3 separate regions of the Homo sapiens genome follow, and regions 2 and 3 are each linked to region 1. Evidence: promoter capture Hi-C in 16 types of primary human blood cells and fetal thymus (Javierre and others, 2016). All regions are on one chromosome and are shown on one strand. The core of a region is centred on a gene start or on the middle of the fragment in contact, and the rest is flanking DNA. Distances in the headings are between cores, read along the strand shown.

Region 1 (3,200 bases), core at 133-2,632:
TAGCCATTATCCAACCGCATTTACCAGACGCTCAGTCTTGAGGGAGGAGGGTAACGCAGTAGGGGATGCGGAGTATTGGTGTCATCCTACAGGTTAAGGACAAACATGCCCACTACAAGGACAGGGATACATCACCAACTTCAATTCAGCCCAGGGTTCATGTAGTAAGGGGTGGGTGATTCACTCCTGTGGGGGAGGCAGGGCGGGGGCGGTTGGGGGAGGCGGTTAGGAAAAAGGAAAATCGTGGAAAGTCCCAGAGGAAGTGGTAGTCAGTTCCCGATGCATGGCCATAATGTACATTGGCCATAAGGTACACTCAGCGCCTCTGTGTCGCTGCTCCCCCTCAACCTTTTACTCACCCACTCCTCCCAACACGCGCCTCACCCGTGCCTCCATGCACAATCCTGAGCCTCGGCATCCCCGCGAGGTGCAGGTTCCAGCTTTGCCCACCACCCCACCACCTACCTACATGGACACGTGTGGTTGGAATGCCTCCCGGGGCTAGACGGCCACCCCTCTTGGGCTGCGAGCTGCTGCCCATCTCTCCACCCACCCGTCCTTATTGTGTCATTTGCCCGGTCTGATGGCAGCCCCAAAGCCGCTCATTTGAGTGGGCTAGAATGGAGAAGAGAGGAAAAGGGAGGCACACATTTCATTCACTAGGACCCAAGATGACCTGCCGCCTCTCTCCTGCCCTTCTCGGAGCCCCCCACCCTCCCTTAGCCCCAGTGGGGCTGGAGGCACGAACAGACAAGGCAAGGGGAGCGCAGTCCGTCAAGGTCCACAGCTGCACACAAAGCCCTTCACCTTCTCCTTGCCTTCCAAGCTCCTCCCTGGGCTTGGTTTCTCCGAGGGTCTCTGATGCCCCCTTCGGTGGTCGGCGGGACGGTCCTATTCCCTCTTGCATCGCTGTCTCCTCCCTCAAGTCTCAGCCTCCTCCTCCCCGCCCCTCGCCACATACCCCTGAGGGAGCTCAGTCCTGGCTTTGGGGGCGCGAGAGCACCCCATAAGCCCGGGGCCCTGCGCCCCAGGGGAGCGGACAACGGTCCACTTTACGAGGCACAACTTCGCCCAGCCGTTCCGCCACCGCACTCGAACACACACCCCATCCCCGCAGCGGTCGGGTCTGGTCCCGATCAGCCCCATCCCCGGGAGGCGGTTGAGCCCAGCCACAGCCACGCTCCTACCTGCGAGGCGGCTGGCGCGGCGAGGAGCTAGGGCACCGAGCGCCCCGGCCCGAGCCCCGCACCGCAGCGCGTCTGCCCTTGTGCGGCGGCGGCGGCTGCAGCGGCCGCTGGGTGGCCCGCTGGCTGGCTGGTTGGCTGGCTGGCTGGCTGGCTGGCTGGCTGGCTCGCTGGCTGGCTGCCCGGCTGACTCCTCACTGGGGCTTCCTGTAGGGCTGGACAAAGGACATTTCCTGGGAGGAGCGGGAGAATGTTCCCAGCATGCCTCGATTTGTAGTTCCCGGGGACTTCCTGCCACCGCAGCAGCGGGCGCCCTGGAGGTAGCTCGGGCCAGGCTAGGACTCCGGGACAGGAGGAAAGGCGCTCGCTGCTTCTCTAAGCGCTGTGGGGAAGGGAGCGGCCGGCGGGTCTTGCCCCACGCCCCGCCCCGCGGCGCTCAAGGAGCCCGCTGTCCCGGAGCACGCGAGATCCCAGCGCTGCACTCCGAGCTCGCGGCACCGGTTGCGGGCAGCCGGTGGGACGCTGCCGCTGAGCTGTCCCATGGTTCGGGAGGGCTCTGCGGTGGGAGAGGCCTTTTCTTTAAAAACTGGGAAGTTTGTGGTGGGTTCGCTTTTTAAAAATTAATCTAAAAACACAAAATCTATCTTTTAAAATAGATTTTCTTTTTGTCTTTTACGCCGTTGACATCCTGCTGGGGGCCGATTAAAGAACTTGATTGCTCACCAGGAATTCAGGTTCCTTAAGATCTTGGCGCTTCATCTTTAAAACCATACAGAGCTGATTGTTTCCAGATCCCGACCCGGTGACATTCCTCCCTCATTGTTGACCTTGTCCCAAACATCTTTTCAAGAAAAGCAATTAAATTGAGATTGAAAATAAATTACGTAAATTAAATATTAGACGTGAAAACCTGTGTGCTGCTGAATTAGGAAAGTGCTGGACTTTCTGCGTATCTTTCCTTCATTAACCTTTAGGATTCAGCTTCTTGGTCCCATAAAACAGATGTGCTGGCCACTGTATATTGAGTGTGTGTATTTCGGGAGTGGAAGGGTGAGGAGAAGAGGACATTGGCTACAAGAGAGGAACTCTACTTCCAGCCTAGCAAGAGTCTATGATGCCCTGCACATGTTTTTGTCTATTTCTGGGACCACAGACTCAGGACCCTTAGAAAATCAAGGAAGGACCACATAGAGACTAAATGACTAAAAGCTATATTCTCTCCTGGAGCATGAGCAGAAAGTAATAAACTGAACTAGGAAAGGACAAGTTCTAGGATGCTCTAGAATGTGTTTGAAAAGTAATCAGATAGAAAAGTCTCTGGGAGGCCGGGCGCGGTGGCTCACGCCTGTAATCCCAGCACTTTGGGAGGCCGAGGCGGGCGTACTACGAGGTCAGGAGATGGAGACCATCCTGGCTAATACGGTGAAACCCCGTCTCTACTAAAAAAAAAAACACCAAAAATTAGCCGGGCGTGGTGGCGGGCACCTGTAGTCCCAGCTACTCGGGAGGCTGAGGCAGGAGACTGGAATGAACCTGGGAGGCAGACCTTGCAGTGAGCTGAGATCATGTCAGTGCACTCCAGCCTGGGCAACAAAGTGAGACTCCGTCTCAAAAAAAAAAAAGAAAGAAAGAAAGAAAAGTCTCTGGGCTTGGTGGCTCATGCCTGTAATCACAGCACTTTGGGAGGCCGAAGTGGGAGGGTCACTTGAGCCCAGGAGTTCAAGACCAGCCTGGGCAACACAGTGAGACCCTGTTTCTACGAAAAGTAAAATAAAATAAATAGCGGGTGTGGTGGCGCGTACCTGTAGTCCCAGCTACTCGGTCGTTTAAGTGGAAGGGTCGTTTGAGACTGGGAGTTTGAGGCTGCAGTGAACCGTGATTGCACTCCAGCCTGGGTGACAGATTGAGACTCTGTTTCAAAAAATAAGGTCATAATTACGTGTCACTTCCACTTGTCATTTCACATTTTAAATCCATATGATTAAAACATTTGGGTGAAGGGTTTAGCTTACATTT
Region 2 (3,118 bases), core at 265-2,764, 2.0 Mb before region 1:
GCGACCCCCCTCCTCTAAAGGTGCGGCGATGCGGCAGCAGCCCCAGGGAGCCGCGAGCTCACTTAGTGGGGGTCCGCCCCCACTAAGTGGTGCTCAGGTCTTTGCCCAGCCTGGTAGGGGGCAGGCGGACCCGAGGGGAGCTGCGGACAGGTGCCGAGACCCGGTGCTCCTTTCCCCTCCTGCTCCCTCGAGGACCCCCGCCCCTGACACACCCGTCCCAAAGGGCCAGAAGAGACGCTCCGAAAGGGAGCTACAACTTTCCAGAGACCTGGGGCTTGGCAAACTCCAGCGAGTTCCTGCTCCGCGCGTCCTGCAGGCTGCGCGCTGGCCAGGCGCGGGCAGGGCGTCTGAAGAGTGTGTGATCGGCGCCTCCGCTCCTACCTGGATCAGACGGCGCCCCCCGCCACCCATGCCTCCCTTCCTGGCTTGCAGTCCCTCGGGCTCGCCCCGGCGCTCCCGCGGGCGCGCACACCTTCGCCGGCCCGCCGAGTGTGAATTCGAATTCGGCGGTTTCACTAGGCGCAGCTGGAGACGCAGCGGTCCGGGGCTTGGATCTGGTTGGGGAGGGGAGGGGCGCTTCCTAGGCTCATTGCCAAGTCCTGAGTTTTAAGGAGAAGGGCGGAGATCCTTAAATTTAATGCGCTCACATCAGACTGTGGACACCATGAGCAGCAAAGGGATCCAAGCCAGTGACTTGTGCGCTGCGCGTCTCTCAGAAACTTCTTGGGAATGCGGTGTCTGTGAAACCTGCTTCCTCTCCTTTTGAAAATGAAACTTGCTTTACTGCGTAGGTGAAAAGCCACGGCAAGTGGGTCGACTCGGACGGATACCGGTGCGGCTGCCCCGGGAGGTGTCGCAGTTCGGGGACTCCCTTCGCACTGGTCGCGAGGCAGGAGGGAGCAGGGTGGGAGGCGAGTCAGAGGAGGGTGACTTACCTGAAGAATACAGGTTGGTAGCCTGCACACCTGAACTCAACGCTGGCGGGCGAGAAAACCAAGCAGCGCTACCTCCAAGTAAGGGCGCTCCCCTGGAGAAATGAATGCCTGGCGAGCTTCTGGAGAACCCACTATTAGGGCTGGACCCTGCGGGAGGGATAGTGTCAGCTCCCTTCCCCTTCGCCCTTTTTTGTCCATAGGTAGGCTTTTGTAGGGCTCTAACCAGTTCCCTGGCTTAATTAAGTAGGGGCCTGCTTCCTTTTTAACATTTTTGCTTTCTTACGGAGATATAAAGTGCATACAAATGAAGTGCTTAAAATGCACTTATAGTAAGAAAGCTTTTATAAATACTATGTGCATAATTATTTGTATTGTGACAACTTGGTCTTCAGGTTACTTTGTAGGTGGGTTAGGAGACTGAACCAGCCCAGGAAATAAAGTTAGGGTGATTAGATCCTCCCAAAGTACACTTCTGGCTGGCTCAGCTGCCCTCTGCGTGCAGGAAAGAGGGTGACCGTTGTTGGCGACAGCAACCTTTCAACGTGAGTAAATTGGCAAGGAAATGAGCCCAGGAAGTAAGTTGGGCAGCCGCAAGAGTGGTAGGAGAGCTTACCCAGAATTTTACTGTCTTAAATCCCCAAGGGTATTATTGAGGGTGTGAGACCAGCCACGTTAGGCCCTGCAGTGGAAAAGGGGGAGGGGGATGGGGAGTAAAGAATGCTGACTTTTCTCTGGGCTTTTAGGGAAACCTCTGAGCTGGGCTGCAGGGGTTCTGTCCTTTGACATTCTTGTTTGTGAAGATGGAAAATGATCTCTGGAGTCAAGCTTAGTTTATTTCAGATAATGAACTTTTTCTCTTAAGGTATACCCATAGCTTTAGAGTACATATATTCTCAATAAAGAGTTTTTAGGAAGATTTTGGTATATTGTATATAATTGTTCAGGTAGCTATGCGGGGGTAGGGGGCTCCCATAACAAAGTTTAAAAAAAAAAAAAAACTCTGCCAGGAGGCCTCTAAATTGTTACCAAAACAAAGATCCCTAATTTCATAAGCAGCTTCAGTGAGCACATAGAATTAACAGCCATATTTCTTACGCTGTTTTTTCCACAATACCTACCTTGTATCCAGGGATTAAATTCATGTAATTCTGAAGGAAAGGATTTGGCTCTTAGCCTGCTTGTCAGAGTGAGCATGACTTAGTTGTGCACCTGTGGCTATCTCTACCTGGTTTCTTCTCTTGTACCGTGAGCACAAGTAGCCACTGAAATCTCCCGAGTTCCAGAGGCCCGTCCCCCCTCAGCTGTATCTCCCCATAGTGCACACATTCAGCCCACATTCCCCCGTGTTCAAGGCCAGGGCAGATCATGCACATCTTGCGCTGCCGGTCAGAGAACAGAATTCCTCATATTTCTGAAAGTCCAAGGAACAGTGCAGCAGTAAAAATAACTTAAAAGTGGGCTGTAGTGCTCTTGTTTTCACAGTACCATTAACCAGACACATTTGATAGAAAATTTAAAAACTTCATTTAAAAAACTTTTTTTGTTGTTTTTACTGCTCAAGTACATAGGACCTTGTCTTCATCTTTTGTCTCTGATCAATGTTGTGTTCATGGAGTTACCTACTAAAGAAATGGAAACCCAAAGGCTCTCAGTGGATGAGTTGAACCTTTTTTTTTTTTTTTTGCATTACTGAGAGAAGTCGTGGAAGCCCAAAACTAGTTTCATGAGTTAAGCTAAACTTATGTTTTGGGGTTTCTTGGTTTCACACCTGTCTCTGGGTGTATCTGCTATTTTGTGTGCATGTGTGTGTGTTTAGGAGTTAAGGAGTAATGTGGAATGTGAGGTTACTTGGAATAAAACATTACTTGGGTTAGATAAGGTCTGTTGCTTTTTGTGTTGTCATTGAGGTAAACAAGGCACTGTAGGAAAATGCTTCCTGCCATCTTGGTGTTTTGACTATAGTACATTAAAATGGCATAAATTGTATTACAATGAAGCAGACACCTCTGTGTTTAAAGAAATGTTCATGTGTTTAAAGCTGCTTGGGTACATTAGTACTGCTGATTTCTTGTGATGTTTTCAGGCCATAAGATCTCTCAAAACGTTTTTACGCTTTCATTGCAGGCCGCATAAAGAGGCTTGCATTTGGAATTCAAATAGTTTAGAGGAAGCATCTTTATATA
Region 3 (2,963 bases), core at 464-2,963, 2.3 Mb before region 1:
TGGCCCTCAATATTTTTACTTTTTATTTGGTGAAGCAGGATCAATGACAATGACTTTTGTCATGTGGTAGGCAGTTAGATATGCAGAGCTTCTAGAAATAATGCAGACTGGGAGACTGGAATGTAGTTACAAGTGTGCCAATGAACATGAGACTTTTCTGCTTGATTTTTAAGCTAAGGCTGACTTACTCTCCTGACATTTAAGGGCCTCCTCTCCAATTCCCAGTCATCAGTAAAGGATGTGTACAGGGAATGACAATATTAGAACAAAAACAACCTGCAAGTAAATCGGATGCAAGAGTCTATGTATCTTGCAAGGAAATCTTTTGCACTTAATCACAACATGGCTCTCCTCAATACTACGGAGAACAGAATTGATTCAGATTGTTTTTAAGCCTGAACGTAAACAATATTGTCGCCTTTTTGGGTTTCAGCACCTCCTTATTCATCCATTTTCTCTTTTATGGGAAGGGGGTTGATGAGGTGTGTGAAGATGATAGAACGTGCCCCAGAAACTGAACAATGAAGAGACGCCTGTCATATCGGGGGTACCTAGATTCCTCTGAAAGGAAGCCCAGCTGAAGGAGCAGGGTCACCACTTTATTTTAAAAACGTAACATGGCACATGTTGGTGCTCTATTAATCGAGCCTCGGGGGCCCAATAACGTGAGCATGGGCTGCTGCGTGGAAGTTTGAGACCCTGTTGCTGAATCCTCGGGCCTGACGGTCTATCGCTGAAGACAAGACTTCCAAAGAATCACAGTAAACGTTAACCTAAGCCATCAGAAGCCATTAACTCCGGTGACACTACATTTCAGCGAAACCTTCGCGACCCAACCCCTCGCTCCCTCTCGCCCAAACGCTGGGTCAACCCCACGAACTGGCGGTGGCAAGGCCCTGGGCACCGGTGAAGTTCTCGTGGCAGCGCAGATCGGCGACCTTCTCTTCTTTCGCGCTCAGACGGCGGCGGCAGCAGTACGCTTTCGGGCTGCTGGAGCCGGCAGCGGCGCGAGGCCGGAGCCCGGGCAGCCAGGCTGGGTGGGGGAGGGGCGGCGGCAGCGGAGCCGGGAGCGTGCGCGCGCACCTCACACTCCGCCGCCCGGGGACGCCCACTCGCGAGCCGGGGCCGGTAGGCCGGCCCGGGTCCCATCGCCCCCGCCCTCCGGTTCCTCTCCGGCGTGAGCCCAACGGGTGTCGGCCCAGCAGCTGCTGCGCTCACCAGGCCTGGGGAGGCAGGGTACGGGGACCGGGCCGCAGCCCCGAGCGGCGTGGGCGCGCTGCCTCTCTGGCAGCCGCCGCCAGAGCCAGCAGCTGCGAGCCACCGGAGGCGGCGCGGAGGAGGCCCCCGCGGCCGGGCAGGAAGGAGACGCGGCCGACCTCTGCCCGCCCGAGGCGCGGCTGCTCCCGCGCGCCCAGGCCCTCCCGCCGCTCCAGGGCTGAGTGAGGAATGAGCCGGCGCCTACCCCGGGCTCTCGGAGCGTGGGCCCCGGCTCGGCTTCTTAGGCGCGAGGGCTCGGCCACTGCGGCCGGCGGCCTAGCTCGGGGAGCAGGCGCCGGGGTTCACTGAACCGGCCGCGGAGAGGAGGAGGAGGAGGAGGAAGAGGAGGAGGAGGAGGAGGAGGAGCTCGGCGGGGGCGGCCGCCGCGCCTCCCCTCCCCCAGGACACGCCGGGGCTTCTCAGTGGCCGCCGGAGGAGGAAGTTCCGCTCCCTGACAGACCCGTGCGGTAGCAACAGCGGCGGCGGCCGCGGCGGCTGGCCGGACTCAGGTGTTTCGGACGCTATTGCCCTTCGCGCCAGCCGTCGAGTGGGCAGCAGCGGGACTCAGCCGGGCGCCAGGTTCCTGCCAGGCAGCGCCGGGAAGCGCGGGCGGCCGAGAACTCCTTCCTGCTACTTCGCCCAGCGCCGCTGCTTCGGCTTCCCAGCGAAGTGGGAGACCTTCCTCCCTGTTTGCAGACGTCCGTGGGAGACCCTTATTTTTTCCACCGCTAAGGTTAAGAGATTCTGGAATAGAAGCGTCGAAGGAGATCAAGTGAACCTTCTACAACTCCTCGGATGTCGCCAGTCTCCCTTTCGGGGCGGAAGACTACGTTTGAGCATCTCACTGAGGTGCAGGAATGGAAGAACCCACCTTGCAGCTTTTCTGCAGTGTGGCTTGCCTGATCTACCCCTAGGAATGAAGAGGAGGCTTGTAATAATCCGATGAAGTACAGATGTTGAAGAGGATATCGCAGGACCTAAACTTGTGATCGTTTGGGGGAGGTCACACACGTTTCTGAGTGGGAATGGATGGGCGTGAATGACGTGCCCTCTTAAAAAGCACAACAGTCCTTTAAGAGGAGCAAAATTGAGTTTTCCCATTTTGGCCAAGATTTTGAAGACAGTTCAATGTATTCTACATTTGACATAAGATGAGAACTTTCTAAAGTATTCTCTCCAAGAGCGTAAACGATGACTACCCCAGCCCTGCTGCCCCTCTCTGGACGTAGGATACCACCTCTGAACCTGGGGCCGCCTTCCTTCCCACATCACAGGGCTACCTTGAGACTTTCTGAGAAGTTTATTCTTCTCCTTATTCTTAGTGCCTTCATCACTCTGTGTTTTGGGGCATTCTTTTTCCTTCCAGACTCTTCAAAACACAAACGCTTTGATTTGGGTTTAGAAGATGTGTTAATTCCACATGTAGATGCCGGTAAAGGGGCTAAAAACCCCGGAGTCTTCCTGATCCATGGACCCGATGAACATAGACACAGGTTTGTTTATTTCAGAAGTTCTGGTACTAACATTTGGCAGAGCAAGGTACGGTGATTGGATCGAATCTGTCTTTTTTTTTTCTTGCAGTAAAATGTAATTTTTCGAGTCATAAATATTGTATTGTTACTTCAAGACTGGCTGAATAAAACCATAGACTGGAGGGACTCTACCTCCAGTCTATGGTAGAGTCCATAGACTGGTAGGACTGGAGT

The links. The method cuts DNA at HindIII sites, captures the fragments that hold promoters and counts their contacts. A CHiCAGO score of 5 or more calls a contact.
Region 2: a contact is called between a fragment that was not itself captured here and the fragment with the promoter of ZNF697 in region 1, in 1 of 17 cell types (M2 macrophages). The highest score is 5.3, in M2 macrophages.
Region 3: a contact is called between the fragment with the promoter of MAN1A2 here and the fragment with the promoter of ZNF697 in region 1, in 1 of 17 cell types (M2 macrophages). The highest score is 6.0, in M2 macrophages.

Annotation. Positions count from the first base shown.
Region 1 is chr1:119,646,884-119,650,083 of GRCh38, forward strand. It overlaps ZNF697 (zinc finger protein 697), which reads right to left and starts at 1,383. Exons shown (of 3, transcript NM_001080470.2): 1 at 808-1,383. LOC124904389 (a long non-coding RNA gene) reads left to right here and starts at 1,433. Exons shown (of 2, transcript XR_007066506.1): 1 at 1,433-1,504; 2 at 1,841-2,093. RefSeq lists silencers at 800-963, 1,261-1,320 and enhancers at 1,379-2,219, 1,391-1,460. The HindIII fragment of the contact is 7,030 bases long and covers 1-3,200 here.
Region 2 is chr1:117,606,162-117,609,279 of GRCh38, forward strand. All of the region lies in intron 1 of TENT5C (terminal nucleotidyltransferase 5C), which reads left to right. Among named protein-coding and RNA genes, the nearest start is that of TENT5C, 1.7 kb to the left of the region's middle. The HindIII fragment of the contact is 487 bases long and covers 1,272-1,758 here.
Region 3 is chr1:117,365,736-117,368,698 of GRCh38, forward strand. MAN1A2 (mannosidase alpha class 1A member 2) reads left to right here and starts at 1,714. Exons shown (of 13, transcript NM_006699.5): 1 at 1,714-2,750. The coding sequence starts at 2,449. RefSeq lists a silencer at 950-1,769 and an enhancer at 2,640-2,779. The HindIII fragment of the contact is 7,016 bases long and covers 1-2,963 here.